Linked DNA regions of Homo sapiens: region 1 is linked to region 2. The links are contacts of gene promoters, found by promoter capture Hi-C in human tissues and cell types (Jung and others, 2019). All regions are on one chromosome and are shown on one strand. The core of a region is centred on a gene start or on the middle of the fragment in contact, and the rest is flanking DNA. Distances in the headings are between cores, read along the strand shown. Region 1 overlaps LOC400940 (a long non-coding RNA gene). Region 2 holds the start of SOX11 (SRY-box transcription factor 11).

Region 1 (6,124 bases), core at 658-3,157, 300 kb before region 2:
TTCTAGTCATGCACACAGAATTTCCAGGAGGTGTCAGAGGCAGCACCTTCAGGATACCTGCTACCACATTGTCGAAGTTGAAATAAAAGGAAATTGTTATAATTATTTTCTGTAGGGATCTCTGCAAAATTTCTAATGATACAAATACATTAATAGCATGTAATTCTCAAACTAAATAAAACAACCACTTTCTCAATGTATTATATTTTCCTTTATGTGTAATTATACTTTTATAAAATATTCACTCTGACGTGAAAAAAGCAACTTTCCATTTATTTGAAAACCAACATAGGATGATTATTTTATTTCATGAAATGTAATTGATTTTATTTGGGTCTGGCAACAATGCCTTGAGGTAGGTTTCATTTTGATTTGTTTTCTAAGAGAAAAAACTGAAAGTCAAAATAAAATGAAAAGGGAAGTTTTTATTTTCAAAATGAAATGAAAAGTCAAATTAAAATGAGCAATTCTTTCAAAATTCTAATGTTTGCATATGGCAAAGGTAAGGTCTGAACCAAGGTCTGTCTAAATCCAAAGTCAGTTCTTCTTTCGCCAGTGAGATTCCTGTTGACCTCCTTCAGGAATCCCCTGACACTCCAAGAATTCTGCCCAGACCTACTCAGGCACCATCAGTAGAGATGAGAATGGATACAATTTTCAAAAAGCCTTCCAGGCAATCCTTTTCCACTCAGGTTTGATAAACATTGCATGCTATCATGCTGTTTTTGTATGTATGACTTAAATCAGCTCTTTTTAACTAGAGATTTTATGTGAGGGTAGTCAAATCCCCTGGAGAATATCAACTACAATCCATTATTTTGTTCAAGTTGCAGAAAACAATAGTATGTGGAAGACCCGGGTGGTCAGAGTGAGGCTGGTCTTGTATGGATTGATGGAGATTGATGGGGCACTGAGGAATTTATGGGGAGAGGAGGCTTCTTTTTGAGGTTGCCACTCATCTCTACCAAGAATTTGTTTCCATGCTTGCCATTTTCTCATGCCTTTGAATTTTTACGTAATCTGGTAGTCTGGAGTACTTCAGATCTGAGCCAAGAAAGGATGGTGGGGGTAGGTGGCCAGAGAATGAAACAGAGGTGACACGTGTTTGAGGAAAGTGGATGCGGGAAAGAGAGAGACCAGAGGAGGGAGGCAGAGCTTCCACAGGATGACTCTAGTCCAGAGAATCAGAGGGTGAATCGCTACCTTGAAAAATTTCTTGCTCTGTCTGAATCTTCATCTCCTCATTTGTGGAATGGGGATAAAAAACACTGCCTTGAAGAAGAAAATGAATGGAATGTGCTTTGAGGAGAATGGGGTAATGATGCTGATTGTGTCCTTGGAGCAAATAGGAACACAGCATGGTAGTGATGACGGCAAGGATGCCATTTCCCCTGGCTCAGACCAGTTAGGGAAAGGAGAGGTTGCAGGGGGCTTTATCTGAGGCCTTGCGATATTAGTCACACAGAAGCTCCCCAGAACCATCTCCATGTTCAGCACTGCCCACCTACCTCATTCTACTCTGAGCCTGCACCAAGCTACACATGAGAAAGGGTCAGACATCCCGAGTTCAAGGCAAGTGAGAGGGCTTGTGATAAGCCCCTTACTTGCACTTACAAGACCAAACTGCCTGAAGCATGGGGCATATCACCTGCAGCATACAGCGCACAGCACTACAAGAGGCCTTGAAAATGTACTTTGCCAAGCCTGGGAGAGGAAAGGCATTCCTAGTGGAGGGACATGTGCAAAGATGAAAAGGCCTGAAGGCAGCCTCTTGGGGATGGGCCATGAGTGTTGAAGAGAGGGGAATAGCGACTAGGAATCTGCACAGGTGCATGGAGTGGTTGACAGCACATTTGCAAAGCCTCGAGTGCCCTGCTAAGAAGCTTATTTTATATGTGCTGGAAAATAAGAGCTTTATATATGAAAAACAAGTCTAGGGGCAGAGTGGAAGACAGACTGGAGAGTAAGGGGGTACCTGGATATAAGAAACCCATTAGGTGCATTAGAAATCACATTGGCAAGAATTGATGAATACCTAAACTTGGGCAATGGCGGTGCATGAGAGGAAAGGGGGATTCCAGAAATGTTTCAGCAGAAGAAGAAGCAGATTCAGTAAACAGATTAAGGGAATTTAGGGTCTGTGTTTGTGTGTGTGTGTGTAGGGACTGGATCGCCAGTTTGGGCTAATTGTGAGAATGCCATAGATTACACATAGGTAATTTGGAGAAGACGCAGGATGTGAAGGACAGATCAGAAGTAGAGCAAGCAAGGACACTTACTTTATTTGGATGGTTGGAGGTCGTGATGCCTGCAGAATGGGACAGAGCTGACCAGCAGGCTTTGAAACTGTCCAGGATTCAACAGAGAGGGATGAGCTCCCTAACAGTGTTTTACAAACACCAGAAGACAATTGGAAATTCAAGTCTTAGGTGTTGTGATGGTTTAGTTGATGTGACTGGTCTTAGGGATGCCCAGATACCTGGTAAAACTTTCCTACTGAGCATACCTGTGAAGGTCCTTCTGGAAGAGTTTGGCATTTGATTCAGTAAGCTGAGCAAAGAAGATCACCCTCACCAATGTGGATGGGCACCATGCAATCTGTTAAGTGCTTGAATAGAACAAAAAGGTAGAGGATGGGTGAATTTCCTCTCTGCTTGACCTGAGACATCCATCTTCATCTGTCCTTGCATGTCAGTGATCCTGGTTCTCAGGCCTTTGGGCCTGGACTGGAACACCACCACCAGCTTTGCTGGGCCTCTAGCTCTCAGGTGGCAGACGGTGGGACTTCTCTGTCTCCACCATTACTTGAGCCAATCTCTCATCATAAATATCTTTCTGCATATTCCTATATATGCTATTGGTCCTGTTTCTCTGGAAAACTCTAATACAGGTGTCAATGAGATATCCAGGAAAAGGGAGAGCCTTAGGGGAAGTAATGCAATTGGAAGAATTGTGAAACATGGCCAGTCTTAAGAAGCAGACAACCAGTGAGCATGATTAAAAAGCTACTCTAAGAAGAAACACCTACAGGGGAAAGAGGAAAGGCAGAAGACATAGAGGGGATAAGTGTCTGGGTGTGTTGTGCTCGCCCTTCTAACCACTACTCAGCCCTGGGAATGGAGAAGGGATGGGGAAGACTTGGCATATTCCAGCTCTGACCTAATGCTTAGGCCAGTCCTGTGTCATGAGGCCCAACCTGATGCAAACCGGAGAAACAGCCACAAATCAGCAAGATTGAGTGCTTTTCCTACAGAGAAAATTCTGCTAGGACCCTACAAAATGGGTTGTGTGTCTGTGCATTGGGGCATGCAGTGTGCACATGTGTGTCCCTACGAAATGGGTTGTGCGTGTGTGCACTGGGGCATGCAGTGTGCACATGTGTGTCCCTACGAAATGGGTTGTGCGTGTGTGCACTGGGGCATGCAGTGTGCACGTGTGTCCCTATGAAATGGGTTGTGTGTGTGTGCACTGGGGCATGCAGTGTGCACATGTGTGTCCCTACGAAATGGGTTGTGCGTGTGTGCACTGGGGCATGCAGTGTGCACATGTGTGTCCCTACGAAATGGGTTCTGCGTGTGTGCACTGGGACATGCACAGTGTGCACATGTGTGTGCACACGTCTGTTTAGTTTGTGAAATTGAATCCCTGACTTCAAACCTTGTTTTATCATGGAATTGAACAGATTTCTGCCCAGAGATAAACAGGTCCTGCCTGGATGTTTGATGCTTTTGTCTCTACCTATTCATCACCTCTGTTTCAAGGAATGGTATGCGCCATTTGAAAAATCAGATCTTTCTTAACAGATCTTTGTTTGTTTGTTTGCTTTTTCCAGCCACCAGATTAGTTTACACTCTGGGAGAAGGTAGATACATTTTGTTATCTGAAAAAGAGAGATAATGATCAGCTCGCAGTCTCCAAAATAGTTAACAAATGACCGTAACTGTACACAATTTATTTGAAATGCTAAAAATCATCAGGGTTTTTCAATGAGCATTTTTTTTTCTGAATACCTTCAACTGAATCATATTTTTGCTTTTAAGAATGGATTTTCAAAATGGAATTATGTGTGTCTCTGCTTTTCTTTAGGCAGTGGTGATAAATCTGTGCCTGCGAGTCTTTTATCTGAATAATTAAAATGATGTAATAAAAACGACCTCTCAGCCCCATAGACCCAGTGAGCTTTGGGTTGATAATGGAATAATCAAATAATCAGAGAACAAGGCCATTCATAGAGTTCCCGAGGAAGCGAGACCAGTGCACGGTGAAAGGTGATGTCAGGGACGATGTGGGGAGACAGAGGCAGAGGGAATCACAGCCCCCAGCACCAAGTGCAAGGTAGGACCAGAGATCATGTGTGTGACAAGGAGTCATGCATGGTGGGTGGGGAGAGGCATAGGGGAAGTGGTTGCAGAGAGAAGACCAGGCTTGGAGGAGCAGGTGTCTAATGGGGGAACGCATCAGGGGGCAGTTTCTTGGAGGGGGAGAACCACTTCACACTGTTTGCTCCATTTATAGCATCTCAGAGCATGGAGTCATTTTTCAAGCAAAGTAGCTGAGACAAGGATCTCTGACTTGCACTTTCTTTGTACGCCTGCACAAATTCTTAATGACCTTAGCTTCCCTATTCATAACATGGGCCACTTCTTCAACGGGGCACAAGGGCACTAAGGGATGGGTCGCTGGGAATCAGCCACTGTAGTTTGGATAATTTGAGCCACGGCAGGCACCAGAGGAACCTGGGCCAGGCTGGTTTCACCGCAGCCTCCCTTAGTTTTGGAGACAGCAGACACGGGTGGGAGAGGGAGACAGCACAATCAGTCCTCTCCCTGAAGGCACAGAAACATCTGTGAAGAGGACAGGGGACAGGCCCTCAAGCAAGGCCCCACACAGTTCTGGCAATAACATGGATTCCAAGGTGGTAGATGACGGCACGGGCTCACGCCCATGCGAATGGGACCAATTGGCAGAATGGAATAAGCACAGAACCACCCAAAATAACAACCACTGCAGTAACACCAAACAGAACTGGGTTGTTCAGAAAATGACAGAAGCCCATGTTACCACCATTAATTGTTTGTTACATGCTGCTGCAGAAAATAAAATTATTTTGGTAGAGGGAAATATTGTGTGTCCCAGCTTTCAGACACAGATGCAGTTTGGCGACAAAATAGAGATTAGGTCAATAAAGGGCCCTCTGGTCTTCATGCCTTGTGTCCAGGGCTGGCCGTGTGCCTGATATTCTTAGAATGAATGCTATGGATGACCTTCTTCCTTTGATAAATGAAATTGCTTGGCTCACACACTTTTTAATGTGGTTTTTATAGAGTCTTTCAGAGGAAAGGAGAAAGAGAAAGCGCGAGCGAGTCTGTGGCTGCCTTTCTTGAAAAATCACTGTGGGCCACAGCGGAACTCTGAAAGTGACAGTGTGAAGTCATTCTTGTGCTTGCCGTTTTGGATGGCAGATGGGAAGCAGGTGCGTTTCTGCAGGATGAGCTGAAGAAGAGGGGCTTAATTAAAGAACACGCTCACGGCATCCAAAAGATCTTGAATTGCCACCGTGTGGGCCTGCCTTTCCCCTTCCCCAGAATCTTTTTAACTCTTTTCATGGTGGGTCATTGTCCTCCCTGCAGCCCAAAGCAATGAGGCCGGGGCTATTATTTTCCTTGTGGACAAATGGCTCTGCAGAGCTGGCTGCCGGGCCAATGGAGCCTTCTGTGGCCACTGTGCAATTGAAATGGTTCTCAGAGAAGGGGCCTCAGCTGCTGCCTGTCTCTAATTGTTGCTGGGACCCAGCCTTCTGGTCAGCTCTGGTCCCTGCCGCTGCTGTCTACACCGACTGTTTTTCCTCCCGGCTTCCAGAGATGAGGCTTCCTTTTGTTCCTCACAGTATTGCACTTTCACGTCCCCTGCAAATGCGGGAGTTGATCTCTTTTCCGTTGTGCGAAGTCTCTGGGGGCCTCTGTTGCTCTGCTCACTACTGTCCGAAGGTGAGCTTCTTGCCACTCCTCTCCAGCCTGCCTGTGTGGGTTGCCTCATGAGCTGTGATTCAAAAGATGACAAGGAGGCACTGGAAGGAGCCCCGGAGGCCCTGGGGTCTACCGTCTGGTTGTAGGGACAGGAACAT
Region 2 (6,774 bases), core at 32-2,531:
AGCTGTAGTAGAGGCGGCTGCCGCCCCCGGCGCCCGAGGTCGCGCCGGCCCGCACCTCGTCGTAGAGGCTCGCTCCCTCGGGGGACTCCGCCGAGCTGCTCAGCGTAGGGCTGGCGGGCACTTTGGCGACGTTGTAGCGTCTCAGCAGCTGCGACGGCTGCTGCCCCGGCGGCTGCAGGAGCTGCTGGTGCGGTGGTTCCTCGTCCTCCTCGTCCGGCTCCTGTTTGATCTGCAGCTGCAGCTCGTCGTCGTCGTCGTCGTCGTCGTCGTCCTCATCCAGAAACACGCACTTGACCGTCTTGCCCGCGCCGCCGCCGCCCGAGCCGCTCACGCGCAGGCTGCCCAGCACGTAGTCGTCGCCCGCGCCCCCGTAGTCCCCGGACTGGGCCGCCTTGCCCGCGCCCGCCTTGGCGCCCGCGGCCGCGGGGGCCTTGAGCTTGCCGCATTTCTTGCTGGAGCCCTTGGAGGTCTTGGCACCGCCCGCGCCTCCGCCCGCGCTCCCGCCGCCGCCGCCGGCCGCGCTCTTCTCTGGGCTCTGGCTGGCGCTGGGCTTGGCCGAGGGGTCCATTTTGGGCTTTTTCCGGGGCCGGTACTTGTAGTCGGGGTAGTCGGCCATGTGCTTGAGCCGCAGCCGCTCCGCCTCCCGGATGAACGGGATCTTCTCGCTGTCCTTCAGCATTTTCCAGCGCTTGCCCAGCCTCTTGGAGATCTCGGCGTTGTGCATGTCCGGAGACTGCTCCATGATCTTCCTGCGTTCGATCTTGGACCATACCATGAACGCGTTCATCGGCCGCTTGATGTGGCCCGACGCCGTCTTGCACCAGTCTGGGTCGCTCTCGTCCAGGGCCACCGGGCTGCAAGCCATGAATTCGCCCTCCTCCGTGTCCAGCGCCTCCCGGGGCAGGTTGCTCTCCGCTTCCAAGCTCTCCGCCTGCTGCACCATGATCCGCTGCAGGGCTGGACGCTCCAACCCGGGCCGCTGGGTCTCGTGCGGAGGTCCCCCTCCCCCTCCCACCCCTCCACCTTCCTGGGCAAGTTGCAAAGTCCTCGGCACCCCGCTTTCGCGGCTCCCCCCCTCCCCCCCGCCCCCCCTTCCAGGCTGCACACAGCGGCTGTGGTGGCTTCGGCGACGACGGCCGCCGGCGCGGTGGGAGCTGCGGTCGCGACAGGAGAGGCGGTGGCGACGGCGGTCGAGGCAGCCCGGGACCCCTCTCTCCGGCTCGTGGCTCCTACCGCAAGCGCCGGACCCCGAGCTCTCCCAGGCGCGCGCGCTCCTTCTGCAAAAAGTTGAGGTCTCTCTCTCAACTAGTTATCAGGGTGTCATATGGGTGACATCACTCCCCCAGCTAGCCAATGGCTGGGGGCCGGCTCCGCCCATCTTCCTTTATTAACTCGGAGGCCCCGCCCCTCCACCCCGCCCTCCGGGCTGCTTTGCAAAGATGGGGGTGGGGGGAGAGGAGGCATGTCTAGAAATATGTTATTTTTAAAAAATCCGCGTGTGTGCACAGATGCGCCTGTTCCCGGGATGCTCGGAAGCGGCGCGCGGCACCACGGGGAGCGGGCGGCCCGGGGCGAACCGGGATGGTTCGGGCGCCGGCGCTAACCGAGGACCGGGTCCCGGGAGAGGCCCCGCGCGCCTTTGTGCCCAGTCCCCGGGAGGCCCGACGGCGACAGCGGACGGCGCGCGCTCACTCCCCGGGTGCACACACTCGGGCACGCGCCCAGCCTGAGACGGCGGCCTCCGCCCGGCTCGCGGTCAGCCGCGCCCGGCCTGCCCCGGGGTGGGCGCAGCTGCTCCCCGGCGAGCCCCTCGCGGGGCTCGGCCGCTCCCCCGGGTCGCCGCCCCGAGCCCGCCCGGTAGCCCCGCGGCGGCCCTGGCCGACGGAAGGTGGCGCTTGAAGACAGCAACCTTCCCGGCACGTGGGCTCTGCTCTCCTTTTCCCTTTCTCCCTTTTTGTAAGGCAAAGAAATCAATTTAAAGCTCGAGAGGCGGTGAGCTCCCTCCCCCGTTTTGCATTTTTCTGTTTTGTCCTTTTTCTCCGTCTGTTTTCCCTCCTCGGTGGTGTTTGGGGACGCGGCTGTGCGGGTTGGGCTGCGCCGCGCCCCCGCGCGCCCCGCCCCGGGCGGGGGCCGGAGTAACGGTCTGCGGGGCCCTCGGGTTCAAGCTGGCCACTCCCAGGGCTGGCTCCGGAGCGGGCTCTGGGTCCCGCAGGCTCCAGCAAGCCCGCGCCCCGCCCGGCGTCCCTGCGAGGGGCCCGGCGCCCTCCTTCCCTTCTCCCTCTGCTCCCCGCCCCTCCTCTCCCCGCCCCGTCCTCTCCCCGCCCCTCCGCCGCTCCTTTCTCCTTCCCAGGCCTCCTCTTCCTCTTTGTCCTTCCCCCATCCTCGGTCGCCAGCGCTTCTCCGGCAGCCTCGTCCTGAAATCGTGCGATTGTGAGCTAGAAGCCTTCTGGGTCACTCATAAACCAAAGAGAAAATAAGGTGCACTCGAGTTTCCCGTCTAAATATTTTCCCTGGAGATGGAAAGGTGCGCTGGCGGCCGGGGAGCCGCGACCTGGGGCGCGCTGGGCCTCGCAGAGCAGCCGCGGACCCCGGCGATCGTGCCGTGTTCGTCTCCTTTGTGTTTCTTTATTGAGTCCCTACTACCTCTACGGATATTCTGGGGGCAATTAAAGAAAATCACCGCTTCATAGGTATGGTCTGTCGCCACCCTCGCCTTCTCCACACCCCCCAGCACTGGGTATCTGGGAACTTTGAGCAGTTCCTAAGACACTGCCCGGATCCCTTCACCAGAGAAATCAGCCGTGTAGGACTGGGAAAATTATCCGAATCTGCTTCCTTTCAGGTGCCCTCCTGCAATTAATACTACATTTCTTAAGTATTGGATCTTCTCTGAGGATTCTAATATCATAAAATAATACCGTGTTTTACACAGATCATGATTTGAAAAAATTACCGCCATTGCGATAAGCCATTCCCGCCCCCGTCCCCCACTTCCCCGACTCATCCTAAAGAAAAACACTGCATCGAATACTTGGAATATTCAGACCAACTTAAATCTTGATAATGCTGGCAATTTATTCTTTCCAGGGCCATAGGAACCAAAAGAATTTACAGTCATTCATACTGGGTGACTTAAAGTCTGGAGATGTATAAAATCCAAGGCAGTGTGTGAAAACTCATCTTCACTCCCGCACGGCGAGCACTAGGTCTTGTTTTTCTCTTACAGCTCACACGTTTTTCAGCTATTGGGAACACCACCGGAGGGAGGGTGGGGTGGAGCACAAGGTGAACCTACACCCACCTCCCCACAACTGCAGGACAAATCCACACTCTAGAGAAAAGGATTGAAATATTTCAGCTCAGCTTCATTATTTGCTTGCAAAGTGTGAGGGCACCTACCATTTGGGCCTCGGAAAGAGAATGCATTTGAAAATCTTTGGCAAATTCCATATTGATTTGCTATCTTTACGCTATAGCAAAAATCATGCTTAGCTTTAAAATGAGAATGATCTGAATATAGTAGGAGTGAAAAATAATAGATTTTATTCTCATAGCGCTGCGATCTTTTTAGAGGAAATAAAAGTTAAAATCTGCTCTTTCGAACAAGAAATATAATTTCTGTTCAAGGCAACATGAGCCGTTTGTTGGAGAAGATAAAGCAAAGATTGGGATTGCTAAAGCAGGCACTGAAGGCGGCACAGGCGGGTGCTACAGCTGAATCCCCCCTGTCATGTAGGAGAGGCCAGGCAATTTTCACAAGAGATTAACTAGATTGCTATTTTGTAGCATGGACTCACCCCACATACTTAATGTTGTTAGACGTAGTCGAGTGAGGAATGAAAAAAATGATAATCTGTATACTTTATTTTTGCTCCCTAAGGGAAAATTTTTAAATAAGTATAGCATTTAAAAAAAAATATGGGAACATGTTTGAGAGTACGCATGCTTCTTACAGGAATAATAGTTACTTCTGAAAACAGATGTTTGCGCCATTAACAGTAACCAACTATTTAGAGAAATTTTAGGCTACCAAATAGAAAATATAGCCTTTAATAATGCACCTCTTGAAAACCTAATTTAGTAAAATGGAAATAGGTCTACTGTTTTTTAAGCCACTGAATGTATATCATAATTAGGATCATTGGTTATCTTTTTAGAGCCAATATTCACTCATTTTTGTGTGTGTCTGTCTATATACTTATTTATAAGCAAGATATGTAGTTTGTTTGTTAACCATAAACATTGTTGGATACATAATGTTCAGAATCTTAAGAGTCACATCTGATTAGAGGCACAAATGACTATTTTTATGGTGATTTTTACCTTTTCATAATTCCATCTTTACAAAGAAAATGTCACGTAAAAGGACTATTACATAAAGAGATGAGATATTTCACGATATCTCTCAAAATTATAACACAGCCAGAGTAAGAAGTGTCCCTTTTTCTTAGGAAAGAAGCATTTTTCTAAGCAAATAATATGCTAAAAATATCACTGGGTAAATATTTGACTTATCTGATGGATTGACCACCATTTTTAGAAGTATTGCAACCACATGCATTCCCCATCTCTGAAATGAAGTTATAAGGTAGGATCCTTTCCTTTTTTCTCCCTTTACCTATTCTCCTGAAATGAGTTCACTCCTTATTGTTAGCTGTATCTATTTATCTCAGCTTCAGCCTTAAATCTTGAATTTGGATCTGGTTATATTCTGTCTACTGGACATTCCTTCTTATTCCTTCTTAAGTGTTCCTCAGACCTGGTAATGAGTATAGATCGAACAATCCTACCTTGAAAACACACACACACACACACACACACACACACACAATGAACCAGTGGATGCTGTTACCCTGTTTGGCTCATCAGAACATGTTTCAATAGCTAAAATAATGTTGTTAAGCTTTTCACTCATTTATTCTCTGAATTGACCACTGCAGAGTGTGATCCATGAAAGCCAGAGCAGTTGGGCAGTACAGCACAGGGCAGCGGCTTGGAAATTTATTTTGATCATGACCTATTTTATAAAACACCTTTTTACATCATGACCCAGTACTCATGCTATACACATATAAAGCAGAAACCAAAGCGTCAAAAATCAGTATCTCTCTTTTATGTGCAATTCATACTCTTTTTTATTCTATTCCATTCCATTCCATTTCTGTAAATGCTAGTTAAAACCCACTATTAATGAGGCACCACTGAAGTTTGAAAAACACTGGCTTAGGTGTTCAGAGTTACGGCTCAGAAGCGTTCTGCCCTGGATTGAAAATTCTGGTTCCACTATCTTTTCTTTTTCCCGCGTGGCTCTCATCATGGAGCGCTTGACTTTTAGTTATCAATGCCCAGATAATTCCACAAACGTACTGCCTCCAAAATTCACGTCTTTTGAAATTATTCATATGAGATATGTATTCTATTTTTTTAAATAGACTTTATTTTCTAGAGCAGTTTGAGGTTCACAGCAAACATGAATGGAAAATGCAGAGCCTTCCACATAGTGTCTATCCCCACACATACACAACCACCCCCACTCGGTGGTACATGTGTTACGATCAGTGCATCCACAATGACACATCATAATCATCCAACATGCGTAGTCCACATTAGGCTCACTCTTGGTGTTGTACATTCTGTGGATTTGGATAAATGTATAATGGCAGGTATCCATCATTATAGTGTCATGCAGATTATTTTCATGGCCCTAATCATCTGGCCTCCACCCACCTATTCATCCTTCACCCCTCCAAGCCCTTGGCAACAACTGATTATTTTACTATGGCAATAGTTTTGCCTTTTCCAGAATGTCAAATATATGGAATCATACAGTATGTAGCTTTTTCAGATTGGCTTCCTTAACTTAACAATATGCATTTTATGTTCTTCCATGTCTTTTTATGACTTCATAGCTCATTTCTTTTTGGCAATACATAACATTCCATTGTCTGAGTATACCACAGTTTATCCATCCTCCTACAGAAGGACATCATGGCTGCTTCCATGTTTTGGCAATGATGAATAAAATCTGTTACAAGCATCCTTGTGCAGCTTTGTGTGTAGATGTAAGTGTTCAACTTGCTTGGGTAAATATCAAAGAGTGATACTGCTCTATCGTGTGGTAAGAGGTTGTATAATTTCATAAGAAACTTTCAAACTGTCTTCCAAAGTGGCTGTCCCATTTTGCATTCCCAACAGCAACGAATGAGAGTTTCTACTATTCTACATCTTCGTCAGAATTTGCTGTTGTCACTATTTTAGATTGTAGCCATTCTACTCGGTCTGAAGTGCTATCTCATTTTTGTTGTAATTTACATTTCCCTAGGCATATGAGATGGACTGTCTTTCCAAATATTTACTTGCCCTCAGTATATCTTCTTTAGTGATATATCTCTTCAGGTTTTTGGCCCATTTTTTTTAAATCAGGTTTTTCATGTGCTTATTGTGAAGCTTTAAGACTTCTTTGTATATTTTGGGTAACAGTCTTTTATCAGACATGTCTTTTGCAAATAACTTCCCCTAGTCTGTGGCTTGTTTTCTCATTTTCTTGATAGTGTCTTTTACACAAGTTATTTAACTTATCCTGTGCCTTCGTTTTCCAGTCTATAAAATAGGATACCAGTAACCATTCCATCATGTGCGTGCACGCGCACACACACACACACACTCATGTGTGCAGAGACACAGTCCAGGTCCTGCTTGATTTGTTAGAATTGCTATAATGATTAAATACATATGAAGTGCTTAGAACAGTGCTGCGCACAGTAGAACGTTTAC

Evidence for each region. The method cuts DNA at HindIII sites, captures the fragments that hold promoters and counts their contacts. A contact is called where the count stands out against the background at its distance.
Region 1: a fragment that was not itself captured here is called in contact with the fragment with the promoter of SOX11 in region 2 in 1 of the 25 tissues and cell types used here (pancreas).

What each region holds. Positions count from the first base shown.
Region 1 is chr2:5,985,340-5,991,463 of GRCh38, reverse strand. It overlaps LOC400940 (a long non-coding RNA gene), which reads right to left. Exons shown (of 3, transcript NR_026833.1): 3 at 3,232-6,039. Among named protein-coding and RNA genes, the nearest start is that of MIR7158, 14 kb to the right of the region's middle. The HindIII fragment of the contact is 6,165 bases long and covers 1-4,989 here.
Region 2 is chr2:5,686,891-5,693,664 of GRCh38, reverse strand. SOX11 (SRY-box transcription factor 11) reads right to left here and starts at 1,281. Exons shown (of 1, transcript NM_003108.4): 1 at 1-1,281. The coding sequence starts at 943. LINC01248 (long intergenic non-protein coding RNA 1248) reads left to right here and starts at 2,547. Exons shown (of 5, transcript NR_110580.1): 1 at 2,547-2,690. LOC124908052 (a long non-coding RNA gene) reads left to right here and starts at 2,702. Exons shown (of 2, transcript XR_007088653.1): 1 at 2,702-4,588; 2 at 5,910-6,037. The HindIII fragment of the contact is 8,038 bases long and covers 1-5,675 here.